Regions from separate parts of the Homo sapiens genome. Here region 1 is linked to region 2. Evidence: promoter capture Hi-C in human tissues and cell types (Jung and others, 2019). All regions are on one chromosome and are shown on one strand. Each heading gives the region's core, a stretch centred on a gene start or on the middle of the fragment in contact. The rest is flanking DNA. Distances are from core to core; before and after follow the strand shown.

Region 1 (2,700 bases), core at 30-2,529, 49 kb after region 2:
TCTGTTTATCATAGGCAACATCTACATATGTTTACAATTCAAAAGAAAGAATTTTTTCTTCCTTTTAAGTTTATTTTTAAATTGACAAAACAGTTTATATTTACCAGGTATAACATGTTGTTTTGAAATATATATGTTATGGAATGGACAAATTGAGTGCATTACCATAAGCATTACCTCACATACTTATGGTTTTTTGTAGTAAGAACGCTTAAAAAGTACTTTCTTGGCAATTTTCAAGAATATAATACATTGTTACTAATGACTAACTGCAGTCACCATATTGTTCAATAGATCTTTTGGACTTATTCCTCCTATCTAACTGAAATTATGTATCCTTTGACCAACATCTTCCCAATACTACACTCCTCCAGCCCCTGGTAACCACCACTCCACTCTCTACTACTATGAGTTTAACTTTTTAAGATTCCATATGTAGGTGAGATTATGCACTGTCTTTCTATGCCTTGCTTATATCAGTTAACATAGTGTCATCCAGATTCATTCATGTTGTCTCAAATGACAAAATTTCCTTCCTTTTTAAAATGGCAAATAGTATACCATTTTGTACATACTATTCATACATTCTCTTTATCTATTAATCTCTTCATTAACATTTAGGTTGTTTCCATATCTTGGCTATTGTGAATAGTATTCCAATGAACATGGGAGTGCAGATATCTCTTTGACATACTGATTTCATTTCCTTTGGATATATTCTCACTTGTGGGATTGTTGCATCATATGGTTGTTCTATTTCTAATTTTTATAAAAGCATCAAAAGTAACAAACAATTATGAACAAATGTGATAGAAAATTTGCCAAGACTGTACACTGGAAACTGTAAAATGTCTCTCAGAGAAAACAGAGAAGACATAAACAAATGGGGAGAGATACCATGTTAAAGGATTAAAAGACTCAGTATTGTTAAGATATCAATTGTAATCAAATTGATCTGTAGACTCAATGCAATACCAATCAAAATTCCACCAGGCTTTTTGTATAGAAATTTAAAAATGGATTCTAATATTTATATGAAAATGTGTAGAACAAAAAACAACCAAAATAACATTTAAAAGAACACAAAATGTTGGAGGATTTATACTATCTGACTTCAGGAGTAAAGTAATCAAGGCAGTAAAGCATTAGAATAAAAAAAACACAAATACATCAATGGAACAGACAGGAGTATGCACAAATAGAGCCACGCATATACTGTTGATTGTTTTTTTCAACAAAATCACAAAGGGTATTCAACCAAAAAGTTTGCAGATGACATGATTGTATATTTAGAAAACCCCATTGTCTCAGCCCAAATCTCCTTAAGCTGATACACAGCTTCAGCAAAGTCTCAGGATTCAAAATCAATGTGCAAAAATCACAAGCATTCTGTACACCAACAACAGACAGAGAGCCAAATCATGAGTGAACTCCCATTCACAATTGCTACAAAGAGAATAAGATACCCAGGAATACAACTTACAAGGGATGTGAAGGACCTCCTCAAGCAGAACTACAAACCACTGCTCAAGGAAATAAGAGAGGATACAAATACATGGATAAACATTCCATGCTCATGGATAGGAAGAATCAATATTGTCAAAATGGCCATATTTCCCCAAGTAATTTATAGATTCAATGCTATCTCCATCAAGCTACCATTGAGTTTCTTCATATGGAACTAAAAAAGAGCCCGCATAGCCAAGACAATCCTAAGCAAAAAGAACAAAGCTGGAGGCATCACACTACCTGACTTCAAACTACACTACAAGGCTACAGTAACCAAAACAGCATGGTACCAAAACAGATATATAGACCAATGGAACAGAACAGAGGCCTCAGAAATAACTCCATACATTTATAACCATCTGATCTTTGAGAAACCTGACAAAAACAAGAAATGGGGAAGGGATTCCCAATTGAATAAATGGGGTTGGGAAAACTGGCTAGCCATATGCAGAAAGATGAAACTGGATCCCTTCCTTACACCTTATACAAAAATTAACTCAAGATGGATTAAAGACTGAAACATATGACCTAAAACCATAAAAACCCTAGAAGAAAACCTAGGCATTACCATTCAGGACATAGGCATGAGCAAGGACTTCATGACTAAAACACCAAAAGTAATGGCAACAAAAGCCAAAATAGACAAATGGAATCTAATTAAACTAAAGAGCCTCTGCACAGCAAAAGAAACTATCATGAGAGTGAACAGGCAACCTACAGAATGGGATAAAATTTTTGTAGTCTATCCATCTGACAAAGGGCTAATATTCAGAATCTACAAAGAACTAAAACAAATTCACAAGAAAAAACAAACAACCCCATCAAGAAGTGGGCAAAGGATATGAACAGACACTTCTCAAAAGAAGACAATTATGCAGCCAACAAACATATGAAAAAAAGCTCATCATCACTGGTGATGGTGCAGAGAAATGCAAATCAAAACCACAGTAACCACAATGAGATACCATCTCATGCCAGTTAGAATGGTGATCATTAAAAAGTCAGGAAACAACAGATGCTAGAGAGGATGTGGAGAAATAGGAATGCTTTTACCTTGTTGGTGGGACTGTAAATTAGTTCAACCATTGTGGAAGACAGTGTGGCATTTCCTCAAGGATCTAGAATTAGAAATACCATTTGACCCAGCAATCGCATTACTGGGTATATACCCAAAGGATTATAAATCATTCT
Region 2 (2,700 bases), core at 10-2,509:
TTTCGAGGAGCAAAGTATCCCCCAAATAACGTGGGAAGGTTAGGGAGAACACAAAAGCTGACATATTCCTCTGGCTATTCCTGATGGCCAGCTCAATTCTAACTTTATGATGAGAGAATCTGGAGCACACAGTAGGAGGAATGGGAACCCCAGGTTTAGTTCCAGACCCTCCAGCTTTCCTTTTCTCTTTTAATCCCACAGCAGTTCATGCCATATTTATTCCCCCATAAGGTTCAGGTCCCCTTATTGTCTCTTACCTTATATATTCCACATGGCTTTCTTGAATTTTAAATTCCTTAAAGGCAGGGGCCAGAAAGTATACTACTTTGCAGGTATATTTTAAAAAGAACAACTAATAGGTACTTGGCAATTTTATAATATGGATGGTTATATAAATCAAATCGAAATTAAAACTGCCATGTTGACTTTTGCACCAAAAATAATTTATTTTCCAAAATAAAATTTAAATAAATAAAAATAACTCATAATTTAATAAAAATTTCAAAATCTTCTAGTGTCCTTTCATATGCAGTACATTAGCCATCAGTCACTTAAACAGCATCTGCTGGTTGAAGAATGCTTGAAGCAATTGTCCAGTCCCAGAGGCACAGGCTAGGAGATCTTCAGTTTCGGAGGTAACCTGTAAGTCTGTTAATGAAGTAAAAGTTCCTTAGGATTTCCACTCTGACTATGGTCCAGGCACAGTGACTGTACTCCTTGGCCTTCAGGTAATGCAGAATCCTCCCATAATATCTTTTCAGGTGCAGACTGCTCATGAGTTTTCCCCTGGTGAAATCTTCTTTCTCCAGTTTTTCTTCCAGGACTGTCTTCAGATGGTTTATCTGATGATAGACATTAGCCAGGAGGTTCTCAACAATAGTCTCATTCCAGCCAGTGCTAGATGAATCTTGTCTGAAAATAGCAAAGATGTTCTGGAGCATCTCATAGATGGTCAATGCGGCGTCCTCCTTCTGGAACTGCTGCAGCTGCTTAATCTCCTCAGGGATGTCAAAGTTCATCCTGTCCTTGAGGCAGTATTCAAGCCTCCCATTCAATTGCCACAGGAGCTTCTGACACTGAAAATTGCTGCTTCTTTGTAGGAATCCAAGCAAGTTGTAGCTCATGGAAAGAGCTGTAGTGGAGAAGCACAACAGGAGAGCAATTTGGAGGAGACACTTGTTGGTCATGTTGACAACACGAACAGTGTCGCCTACTACCTGTTGTGCCAGAGCAAAGGCTTCGAAAGGTTGCAGTTAGAATGTCCTTTCTCCATGGGTATGGCCTATTTATATGAGATGGTCCTCTCTCTATTCAGAGGAATTTCCCACTTTCACTTCTCCCTTTCAGTTTTCCTATGTCATTTACATTTTAGTAGTTTCTAAAACTCTTTATTTAAGCTCCTATCTTATGATATATATAATAGGGAAAAAGATTTACAAACTGTGAGGTTTTCTAATGTTTTTTAAAGTTTCAGTGAATGACTAAAGCAAATTGTAAAACAAGACTTGGGAGAAAGCAAAGGAAAGCAAACGACCTGAGAATTCAAGAACCTCAAAACACTAAAAGATACAGTTGGTCCTTCCTATCCATAGGTTCTGTATCCGTGGATTCTACTGACTGTAGATGGAAAATATTTTTTAAAAATACAATAAAAATAATAATACAACAACAAAAAATAATGTAAATTTTAAAGATACAGTGTTACAGCTATTTAGCATTTATATTGTATCAGGTATTATAAGTAATCTAGGGATGATTTAAAATATACAGAAATACATGTGCAGATTATATGCAAATACTGCAACGTTTTATAAGAGGGAATTGAGCATCCTCTGATTTTGGTATCTGTGGAGGCAGCGGGATGGTGGTCCTAGAACCAATCTTCTTTGGATACTGAAAGACTGAGAGATAGATTTACTGAAAAGTCAATCAGGGAATAGTAGCTGAAACTGCAAGGAGTTTTGCCCAATATGATAATAGATTAGTGTGAGAGGGCCTTGGAAACTTCTGAAAGGCACTGGAATAGTCTAGGGTATAAGAAATTTTCAAACCAACCAGTCACAGCCCTTTTGATCCTACACAGAGGAGAAACTGCCACAAGTGGAATCACACTTCAGCAGGATATAAACAACACAGACAAGGATAGAGAAGGCCCAACCAGGGTGGGATGGAGAACTCAGAAGGCAGGCTGCTATGTTTTTGACCATTTCACAAAAGCTAACAGAAGAGGGAGCTCTGTGAAGTTAGAAAAACCGCCCTGAACCACTTCCTGGTTCAGGAAAAATAAGCTCTTACAAGACCAAACAACAGAAAAGTATTAAGATGGAATCTCATACAAAGTTATTAATAGAAAAAAGAGAAGGCTTTGGGAAGATGGCTGATTAGAAGCAGTTGTGGTCTGTGGCACTCTGCTCTTTGGCCAGGATGGTCTGACTGCCCTGAGCCTGTCATGCTGTGAGAAAGCCCAAACTAGCTTACAAGGAGAGACCATGAAAATTGGCAGTGTATTTCAAAATTTAAAATTTCAAGCAATGAGATTGTTCCTTTAACTTGCAATACCGTTACTAGTTATTTACTATGGCTATCCCTGCAGAAATATGCATGTGTATGTGCATGTGTATTATAGATACATACAAAACATATATAAATGTTGATTATATTACTATCATAGTAACAAAGACAAATGTCCATCAGCAGGGA

What was found. The method cuts DNA at HindIII sites, captures the fragments that hold promoters and counts their contacts. A contact is called where the count stands out against the background at its distance.
Region 1: a contact is called between a fragment that was not itself captured here and the fragment with the promoter of IFNB1 in region 2, in 1 of the 25 tissues and cell types used here (hippocampus).

What each region holds. Positions count from the first base shown.
Region 1 is chr9:21,125,938-21,128,637 of GRCh38, forward strand. No RefSeq gene overlaps it. Among named protein-coding and RNA genes, the nearest start is that of IFNW1, 15 kb to the right of the region's middle. The HindIII fragment of the contact is 4,514 bases long and covers 1-2,700 here.
Region 2 is chr9:21,076,683-21,079,382 of GRCh38, forward strand. IFNB1 (interferon beta 1) reads right to left here and starts at 1,260. Exons shown (of 1, transcript NM_002176.4): 1 at 422-1,260. The coding sequence starts at 1,187. The coding sequence ends at 624. The HindIII fragment of the contact is 10,658 bases long and covers 1-2,700 here.